Linked DNA regions of Homo sapiens: region 1 is linked to region 2. The links are contacts of gene promoters, found by promoter capture Hi-C in blood cells and fetal thymus (Javierre and others, 2016). All regions are on one chromosome and are shown on one strand. Each heading gives the region's core, a stretch centred on a gene start or on the middle of the fragment in contact. The rest is flanking DNA. Distances are from core to core; before and after follow the strand shown. Region 1 overlaps DOCK8 (dedicator of cytokinesis 8). Region 2 holds the start of DOCK8 (dedicator of cytokinesis 8).

Region 1 (6,758 bases), core at 4,259-6,758, 34 kb before region 2:
TTCTGGCCTCATATTATCTGCAGAGTCCATGAGGGTTTAGGAGGATGGTCTTTTTCAGAAATCTTAATCTGTATCAAATGGAGGAATGGAATTGCATCTCAGTGAGATCTTGCTGTCCCGATTCTTCTTCAGCCACCTGTATGCCTACCATGGGTTTGCAAATTCTGCCCTGGGTCTGGTTACTACATTAAGAATATATCTTACTGTCAATATCAGGGTTCCTATTAAACTGTTCTCCTATGCAGTTCCCAAATATTAGACACATAAGGAAAAGTGCTTTCCTAAAAATGCTTTACTTTTTACCTTCAACAAGGGAACAACAGTTAGCTTCAACTTTCAACAGTTTTAGAATACTTTGCATTTTAAAAGCTTCTTGCATTTGAACACATCTCAAAATCTTGGCCTCACTCTCTTTTCTCAATGCATAAATGTGGTTACGATCCCTGGGGGTTTTCACATGCTTTTATACCAGGTGACTGTGTATTAAACGAGCTAAGGTAAAGTTGATCCATGATAATTAACAGGAATAAGATTTTAGGGGAAAAAATCCTAAAACCTGTTTCTTAAATGAAGCCATCAATCATGGCAGAGGAGCCACATGTTGGGCACAAAGCCAACACCCACACGGCTCTTTCTGGGACAAGGCTTTTGGTCAAGGGCAAGGTATTCCCCACAAGAAGAGAGCTGAATATGTCTCCCATTTTGCTAGTCTCTTATATTAGCATAACTTTTAGTCTTATGGAGGCAAACCTTCCCTGTTCCAGAGCCTTACTTCCAATGAAGTAGGCAAGGCAACAAACACTCAAAGAAGTTAAGGGACTGCTTAAGCCTAACAAATCTTGCAGGTGGTAGAGGTGGAATGAGAACTGAGTTTATGCTTAGGAAAGTAGACTGTGGTCTTTTTTCCTAAAGAAAGTTGCTTTGAGTAGGTACAATGGGCAGTAGGTCACCATTTAAAGAGGAAAGAAATCCGTGACCAATCATAACTTGCTATGCTTGTAATTCCCACCACCTTAAAGCACATAGGAAGTGTTTAGTTCGATTGAAAGATCAGTTACTTGAGAGAATAACATACAAACTAAACCTTAGTACAGTGTGATATTCCTACATCAGACTAATCTATATCCACCTAATTTCATACAGGGACACTGAGGAAGTGAAGCCCAGACTACCCTGTAGATGCATAGGAAGCTAAGGAAGATAATGGGTCCCAAAAAAGCAATGGTGGGAATTGGGGTCCAGTCCTTTTCCAGGAGGGATGGAGTGTAAAAAGAATATTAATAAAATTAGGTGTTCAAGGCTAGTTTCCGAAAAAACATTTTGAATCAAACCTCTGTCCCAAGGACAGAATAAAACACTCTGTGCTTTGGGATACCCTAGGACCAACTTCATCCATTTCTCAGTTTTTCTTAGATTAGGACAATAATAAGTAGTTTAAATGCATGTTGGCTACCAACAAAAGTTAACAAATAAAGCCTGCCTAAATTGATGTGAAGAAGTATACATAGGACTTTTTTTTTTTTTGAGATGGAGTCTTGCTCTGTTGCCCAGGCTGGAGTGCAGTGGTGTGATCTCGGCTCACTGCGACCTCCCGGGTTCAAGCAATTCTCCTGCCTCAGCCTACCAAGTAGCTGGGGCTACAGGCATGCATCACCAGGCCCGGCTAATTTTTTGTATTTTTAGTAGAGATGGGGTTTCACCATGTTGGCCAGGCTGCTCTTGAACTCCTGACCTCAGGTGATCTGCCCGCCTCGGCCTCCCAAAGTGCTGGGATTACAGGGGTGAGCCACTGTGCCCGACCTACATAGGAATTTTTTAAAAAATAAATGAATCTAACAAGACATTTATTTTCAATATTCTCATGCTAACTTACACAGTAATCATATTCCAATGAATAACAACTGGTTCAAATCTTGCATAATCATCTACTAATTGTGTGATCTTGGGCAAATTAATTAACCCTGCTAAACATATGGTGGAGTGACAGAGACACAGACACACAGAGAGACTCAGAGTTCCAAACCTGTCAGGCTGTAAGAATTCCCTTGGGGCTGGGCACGGTGGCTCACGCTTGTAATCCCAGCACTTTGGGAGGCCGAGGCCAGTGAATCATGAGGTCAGGAGTTCGAGACCAACCTGACCAACATGGTGAGACCCCCGTCTATGTTAAAAGTACAAAAATTAGCCGGGCATGGTGGCATATGCCTGTAGCCCCAGCTACTCAGGAGGCTGAGGCAGGAGAATCACTTGAACCCAGGTGGCAGAGGTTGCAGTGAGCCGAGATCTCACCACTGCACTCCATCCTGGGCAACAGAGCAAGACTCCATCTCAAAAAAAAAAAAAAAAAAAGAAAACACAATTGCTCTCGCTTCTGCACCCCATGTGCTGGTTAAGTAGTTTCCCATTCTTCTTACTTTTTGGTGTACCCTTAAAATAATGCACCATTAACTTAGGTAACATGAGCGTATCTTTAATCCTTATAACCTGGAAAAGCCTGCTACTAGAACTACTATTACTGCAATTAACAATGCTAGTCACACTTAATGAGTGCTTTCTGTCTGATCGTTAGCCCATGTAGTCCTCACAACAACTCTATGAGGGAGGTATTATTATCTTCACTTTACAAATTTGGAAACTGAAGCCAAGAAAGGTTAAGAGACTTGTACAAGGCTTTACTGGTACACACAGAGAAGGAAGGAGACAGAAGATAGCCCTACTGGAAAATGTTATCACCAGGCGCATCTCAGAAAAAGCTGCTATCGGAGTGAAACTTCTGGTATTTTCCTTCCCGGGGGCTTGGCAATGGAAAGCTTAGCATGCGAAAGCTTTCAGAAGAAAGGATACTAAGCTTTGCCCCTGACTACTAAAAAGAGCAGGTTTTAGCTTGTTGCTGAGACTTTGAACCTGGCTCCAATATCATTAATCCTTTCATGGATAAGTAGTCCTGGAATACGTTCCAAATGGCATCCAAATACCCATGTTAGCAATGGGTAAAAGATTTAAGAGCAACTTCTAAACATTGATTTTTTTCATCAAGTATGATTCTCTTTTTGTGTAGTTTGTCTCTTTGTGTTTCACCAAGGAACAAATATTAAGCACAATAAAAGTGAAGCCCTGTGAAGTCCAAAATCTGTTAATGCACCAAATATTTTTCTAGAATGTGGGATGGGGCAGGCAAAGGAGACATCTGAAACAGAAATTGCATTCATGTTTTTATTCGAGATCTGTCCTTGTCAAATGTTTCCTACATTACCTGGACAATCCCTGTCTGTCCCTAGACTCCTCTTTGCTTCCTATAAGTCTGCTCAACTCACTGGCATCAGAAAAGAGCCTTCCCTTCATCAGAGGGCCTTCCTCAAGCTCATTCTCTCCCCTTCCCCTGAGCTCGAGTTTCTACTTCCTTCAGTCCCTCTCACTCCTAATCCAATGTTCGCAGGCTACCACCCTCACCCTTCTGTAAAAGCTTCTCTTGATATAGCCACTAAAGACCTTTTGCTGGACAGCCAGGACTTCCTTCCTGTCCTGTTTTAATGTGATCTTTCGGCTGCATCAGGCAGTGTTGACCTTCTAATCCGTCATGAAACTCCTCCCTGGGATTATACACATACTATCAACTCTACTATTTGATCATCCTCAGTTTCTTGAATGGGCTTTCCACCCGTGTAGGCCCCTTACATGTTGTTTACTCCCAAATGATAGTACTATGATAAATTTGGAATTGAGTGTGGAAGGTTCCGGGTAAGCAAATCTGTTTCTAAAACATGGGGAAGCATTAAAGAAAAAACATGGGGGAATCCCAATAAGGAAAAACCCAGTATGGTGTGGTATCAGAGGGTCTTGTTTTGATGAGTCTACTGGGAATATTTTATGTAGAGTAGATAGGTTATTGTAAATGGTCTTTTTCTCAGAGGAGATCAGTTTCTTTAATTGTTTCATTCCTTGAAGGGACAATGTCAAAGCTGTTGAGCCCAAAACCACCCCCTTTGACTCATTTAGCTCACATGGAAAAATTTTCCCTAAAGAATGCAGAAAGGAATTTCTACAAAGCAATTAATTTATCCTCTTTTGCCCAACTGCAAGCAGTAGCACATGAGCCTTGGCCATTTCCTGTCAGCTTAATAACAAACAACTCAGCCCTCTCTTGCCCTCGCATCTTGAACCCTACATGCTCCCAGAAATATGATAAATGCTTGTGCCAGGACATAATGACAACTTAAAAGATCCCTAGTATGTGGAATACAGTGGAGGAGTTCAGACTGTTACAGACTTGCCAAAGCCTGTGCTATAAAGCCTGTGTTCTAGAATAAGGGATAGGGCCTTTGGACTACCTGCAACATTATAGAGCTTTCAGACTGTTAGGGATTGTCCAGATGCTGTAAGAGTAATAGCACGTCAGCCAGGTGCAGCAGTTCACGCCTGTAATCCCAGCACTTTGGGATGCCGAGGCGGGGGCGTCGCTTGAGGTCAGGAGTTCGAGACCAACCTGACCAACATGGTGAAACCCCTTGCCCACTAAAAATACAAAAAAAAAAAAAAATTAGCCAGGCATGGTGGTGGGCACCTGTAATCCCAGTTACTTGGCAGGCTGAGGCAGGAGAATCGCTTGAACCTGGGAGGCAGAGGTTGCAGTGAGCCAAGATTGTGCCACTGCACCACTCCAGCCTGGGCAACAGGGCGAGACTCCGTCTCAAAAAATAAAAAATTAAAAAAATTAAAAAATAAGAAAAGAGTAATAGCATGCTAAACTATTAAGAGTAATAGTTTTTACTCTTAATAAACTAAGAGTAAGAATTGTATTACTCTTAATAGTTTGGCATGGCAGATGTGATGCAGTCTAACCAACTAGGAATGAAGAAGAAATGCCAGTTATTACATATTAAACTTTTGAAAGAAAATGTATTGAGGCTGTGAGATTGCTGCTGACAGTATAGAAAACATCACTGACTTTCCTCTTTTCATTTATCTTTGTGGAGTCACAGGCTGTGGTCAGAGGTAGGCTAAGGCTTGGGTGGTGACTTCACTCCACTTCGCAGAGTTTATTGTTGGACAAAAGAACTGGGCGTGGCACCTTGGGAAGGATGTGAATGTTCTGGTGAAGGAAGTGGTGTCCCCCAGTCATGCCATAGGACCATCTCTAGACTTGAAAGTTTGCCATTTGTTGGCACTGGCCCAAGATCCTGGGAAACCCCCCAGCAATCTTTCATCTATATGCAGTCCCAGGTGAGGGAAGTGTTTACAATAGCAACAACAGGTACCAAGAGCGGAAGGAGAAGATAGGATATTGGGTTCAACCTGGAAGAGTGGGACCTCCCACTACCTGTCTGTGGTGGAGGCAGCCCTCTTTCCATAAGTGTGCAGTCATTTTTGCCCTCACTCACTTCACTCTGTCACCTAGAATGAAGTAACAATAACAGGCCACAAATGTCCATCCTTAAGATTATGATGTTTCTGGAGAGTCTCTATTTTTCAGAGTTAGGTTTACTTCTTCAAGCAGCACCCCTGCTTTTGGTAACAGCACTATCTCAGCAAAAATGCAACTGAATCTATGAGCAATAACCCACCAAGTACTTACAGCCACAAACCAATTCATGTTGGTGAATAGGACAGGAACAGGAAGGTGGAGAATCTAAAGGTGGCATCACTCATGCCAGTATTTTCATTAGGTCGTGACAGCTACATCAAAAGTAAGAAAGATAGAAAGAAAAGAAGATGGAAAGAAAGAAAGAGAGAAAGAAAGACAGAGAGAGAGAAAGAAAGAAAGAGAGAGAGAGAGAAAGAAAGAAAGAAAGAGAGAGAGGGAGGGAAGGATGGAAGGAGGCAAGGAAGGAAGAAAGAGAGGAGAGAGGAGGGAGGGAGGAAGGAAGGAAGGAAGGAGGGGAAAGACAGAAGGAAGGGAAAAATAAAAGAAAGAGAACACTTGACATAGGCAAATGGTGTTCCTTTGAAAGCAAGGAAGGTAAAATTGACCAAATAAAATTGGTAATGAGTCAGGCCTTATAAAGACAGAATGTTCAGTATTGACGGCTTAAAGGTGATGTTAATCTGTTTTGTCTAAAAGGCACAGGCCAGGGAGACTATAGGGAGAAACAGGCAAAACAAGAGACCTGAGCCCTGGTGCTTGAGGGGCAAAGCCCAGGGTGGACAGTGAATGTGGTAGCAGGTGACACCTCAGAGATGCTGTTCACGGAAAGCCACCTCAGATGAGGCTCTCTGCTCCACCAAATTATCAGACTCTCTGTATTGGACTTAATGCAAGATTCTTTTCCTCGGACATATTAAAGTTTCAACACAAAGTTTGCTCAGCTTGTTTACTCAACTTTGTTTCTTTTTTTTTTTTTTAACTTAGAGAAGATCAGAAAAGAACATTTTAATACAATATACATTGGGGCAATGAAACAGAAGTAATGTTTTAGTTTATTTATTAATGATAATACTATAAACAGAATTTAGTCTGGAAGTATTCATTTCCTTAGAGACTAACACACTTTTGAAACAAACATTTCTCTGCCATAATCCCAGCACTTTGGGAGGCCGAGGAGGGTGGATCACGAGGTCAGGAGATTGAGACCATCCTGGCTAACACGATGAAACCCCGTCTCTACTAAAAAAAAATACAAAAAATTAGCCGGGCGTGGTGGTGGGTGCCTGTATTCCCAGCTACTCGGGAGGCTGAGGCCGGAGAAGGGCGTGAACCCGGGAGGCGGAGCTTGCAGTGAGCCGAGATCACGTCACTGCACTTCAGCCTGGGCGACAGAGCG
Region 2 (3,988 bases), core at 1-2,500:
GGAAATAAAATCGTCAATAAAGCTCGATATGCCCTCTAGAAGACCTTATCGCCTTGTTTTTCTAGGCTTTTAATTCCTTGTTCAAACCTCTTCACACACTAACAGCACAAAGATGAACCTACGGTGGAATCCACCTTTCACAGGCTCAGCTAAGTGAAGATTAACAAATCGGACAGCCCTGTGGGCAATAGAATAAGTTGACACTTTAGAATGAGTTTCCTATTATCTTTTAACTAGACAGTCTAGCTTTCTCAGGGCAAGACAAAAATGTCCCAATTACTTGTCAGCAGTTTTTAGTGGAGGAAAAACTGCAGTTAAAGCACCTTTACTGAGAACTTTGAGCAGTAAATGTGCTTACATATTTAGTTTGTGCAACTTTGATTAGGAATTGGATGGTGAGTTGGGATCCCCCAGTCCTTAGCTTTTTGCTGGAGTTCTGTAAATCTCAAAATGTCAGCCACAGGCCATTTCTTTTGGTTTATTTAAGTGTAGATTTTTTAAAAAATCACTTTTTCCACTTCATGGCTCCTTTGGACCAGGGTATAAAAATAGCGATGCCACCAGGAGCCAAGCTCTTTCTGGAATAATGAAGCAGGCGAGGACGGAGCCTTGCTCAGGACGACAGAAGGCTTGCAGCCTGCCTCAAACGCAACTCTAATTTCAGCCACTTCACTTCTTCCCCCCGCGCTCAGACTTGCCTCAAAGGAAGGAGCCGTTTATGAGACACTCCGTGGCGCGCCCAACACGGTTACCCAGGCGCCTATCACCCTTCTGGGACCCGGCCACCTGTAAGAACCTGGAGGGCGGAGCGGGCGAGGTTGTTCGGGGAAGGGATCCCCGGCGGCTGAGGACATCCAGGAGCACCGAGATTCTTGGGGAGGACCTCGCCGGGCCCAGCGCAGGAGCCGCCGCGCGTCCAGCGGCTCCACCGCCGCAGCCTCGGGAACCGGGCGCCCCAGGTCTCAGGCGCGCCCCGCCGCGGACGCGAATGGACTCGTCCGGCCTCGGCCCCTGCAGCGAAGCTCCGCTTCACACCAGCGCTGGGCTGTCCGGCCGCAACCTGCGCGCCGCGGGGGGCGTCTTACCTGTTGATCTTGAGCGCGAACGCGCGGCGCTCTGCGCTCGGCAGAGTGGCCATGGCCCGCCGGCGGTTCGGTGGCTTCTAGGGTCGCGGGGTGCGGAAAGCGGGGGCCTGGCGCGCCGCAGAGTAGCCGCGGAACATGCCCAGCCAAGCGCAAACCTCGTCTGTCGGTCGGCGCTGGAAACTTCCGCATTTCCACCTTCTAAGCCGAAATCACCCCGGGGGAGGGTCCGAGCTCGGAGCAGCGACGGCCGGCTCCGCCACCCGGCCTGGCGCGCAGGCAGCGGCGGGCGAGGAGGGCGTGGGCCCAGCGCGGAACTGGCCTCCCGATACTGGGGCAGACGGCGCGCTCTGCCCGGGGCCGCCGACCTCCGGCCGAAGGGAGCGCGGGCGGACGACAGGCGACCACTGCGCGCAGGCCGGAAGCTCCATCTGCCCGAAGCTGCGAGGCTGCCAGGGAATGTAGGCAAGTCGGGGGAGCCCCACAAAGCTGGCGAGGTCGGGAATCACCCCAGGGATTCGTAAGGCTAGGTGTTATTAAGGGTTGACACCATTCTCGAAGAAGGCAGCCAAAAAAAAAGACAAAAAAGTTAGTGGAATCTATCAGGATTCAAATCAACTTTTGCAAGCAATATGCCCATCATCCTTCCTGAGACACTAAATAAATATAATGGATTCATCCAAGGAATAAACATTATGAGTTCTCAAAAAATGTTTTCGTCACAACCTGGCGTGAATGCTTTTCTCCGGAGAAACACTGAAGGCGGCGTTCTTGCGATTCAAGGGTACGCTGCGTCCAGGTTTATTTCAGTTTCAGACTGAGGTCTGCTAAGAAGCCCGGCCTCAAACTCAAGATAAAAACAGAAAAGTCCCAGTGTTGACGGGAGTGGAGGAGCCCGTGTTCGCTTCAAGGTGCCGGCGTGCTGCTCTAACCTGTGCTATATATACTCGAGCACTCTCCATATAATGCCTCCATTTACCAACTTGCTCTTAAAAAATACCAAAGCAGGCCGGGCGCGGTGGCTCACGCCTGTGATCCCAGCACTTTGGGAGGCCGAGGCGGGCGCATCACGAGGTCAGGAGATCGAGACCATCCTGGCCAACGTGGTGAAACCCCGTCTCTACTAAAATACAAAAAATTAGCCGGGCGTGGTGGCGCACGCCTTAGTCCCAGCTACTTGGGAGGCTGAGGCAGGGGAATCACTTGAACCCGGGAGGCGGAGCTTGCAGTGAACCGAGATCTGCCACTGCACTCCAGCCTGGCGACAGAGCAAGTCTCCGTCTAAAAGAAAAAAAAAAAAACAACCAAAGCGAAGTATTTTTGGTTCAAACCTGCACTATTTAATATGATAGCCACTAGCCACATGTGGCTATTGACCACTCGGCATTATGGTTAGTCTGAATTGCCCACTGCTGGATGTGTAAAATGTACACTGGAATTTAAAGACAGCGCAGAAAACATCGTGTAAAATGTCTTGTTAATGATTTTCATGTTGATTGCATGTTAAATGATACTTTGGATATAAAAAATATATTATTAAAGTTAATTTCACCTGTTTGTTTTCCCCTTTTAAAAATGTGGTTTGCATTTTTAAAAATGTAAAATTACACATGTGGCTCACATTTGTGAGCCTCATTATATTCCTATTGGACAGTGCCAGTCCAATACAACCTAATTTGTCACCTAATACTAAAATCCACCTAAGGACTATATTCAGTCTCTTCCTGATACAGCCTTCCTTCCTGGTTTCAGCTGTGTCAGGTAGTTTAGTAACTTTTCAGTACTGGTTAGGTAACTCCCCGCCCCCCAATGCCCACCAAATATCAGTGCCCTTTTAAGCATATAAGACAAAGTTCACTGCATAGACTACAATAGACTACATACGAAAACAAACCCAAAGAAAAATAAAGCTTTTTTGAAATTTAGAGTTTCTGACTTTCAAAACTGTCCTTATTTACTACATTGGAATTTATGAGCAAACATTTGGATAGCAAAATACAAAGAGAACAAATGTGTAAGTACTTCTTCAAACTGAGACTCAACGAATGATACATAGAAAACATTTTGCCCCAGAGGCTTCGGTCCACGGTGTACCATGTCAGCCTTTCGGATGAACTCCTCTGAATTTCTGAATGTTTATGACATACATTTTCATATAGAACAAAAATATACTGGTTTCACACAAACATAAATAAAATGTAATGAAAGCATCTCAGATTTTCAGCATTTGCAATCAAGGAAACTTTTTGGGTGAATGTGGGAATCATAAAACCTTCCATCTTGCCTCAGATCATACTGCAATAGATTTAGTATTTGGTACCTAACCATGAAGGTTAGGCCAGCATTATTATCCTCTGTGCTGTCAATTTCTTGATGGTTAGAATTGTCTCCAGATTTCCTTAACACTCTTTTAACAATTCACCATGAATGTGTTATCCATTAATTTAGTCAAATGCCTGTTTTCAAGTTTGATCTGCTGTTAGATACATTCACATATTGCTGGCAAATAGCCATCCAAGTGCCTTTCTTCCTTATTCTCACTGCCTCTTTCGTTTTCCATCAGCCCTCTGTCCAGAGAGAACTCTGGGAGGCCTCCTTCTTTCCGCATCTGATGGTCTCTCTTGGCCTTCCTCTTTCTCCGTATCTTTGTGTCATTCAATTTTGTTTTTCACCTTTATACAACTCTTCCCTTGACTTCTATCTCAGACCATACATCAATTATCCTAAATGCTCTAGTTTTCCCCACATCTTCTTCTTACCTCCCCAGAAAGCCGACCTCTTTCTCTACATTGCATCTTACCTATTTTATTGAACAAACAACTAAATAACACTTATCTTGTACCGGGTACTGCTCCAAGTCCTTTATAAAAATTAATTCATAGCAACCATTAAATAATAACATTAAC

What was found. Contacts are between HindIII fragments. The CHiCAGO score rates a contact against its expected background, and 5 or more counts as called.
Region 1: a contact is called between a fragment that was not itself captured here and the fragment with the promoter of DOCK8 in region 2, in 2 of 17 cell types (neutrophils and monocytes). The highest score is 12.5, in neutrophils.

The regions. Positions count from the first base shown.
Region 1 is chr9:247,564-254,321 of GRCh38, reverse strand. All of the region lies in intron 1 of DOCK8 (dedicator of cytokinesis 8), which reads right to left. Among named protein-coding and RNA genes, the nearest start is that of DOCK8-AS1, 35 kb to the right of the region's middle. The HindIII fragment of the contact is 4,086 bases long and covers 3,466-6,758 here.
Region 2 is chr9:212,127-216,114 of GRCh38, reverse strand. DOCK8 (dedicator of cytokinesis 8) reads right to left here and starts at 1,250. Exons shown (of 48, transcript NM_203447.4): 1 at 1,086-1,250. The coding sequence starts at 1,138. DOCK8-AS1 (DOCK8 antisense RNA 1) reads left to right here and starts at 365. Exons shown (of 1, transcript NR_160804.1): 1 at 365-2,658. RefSeq lists silencers at 776-915, 1,086-1,135, 1,186-1,235, 1,246-1,495. The HindIII fragment of the contact is 3,855 bases long and covers 1-2,994 here.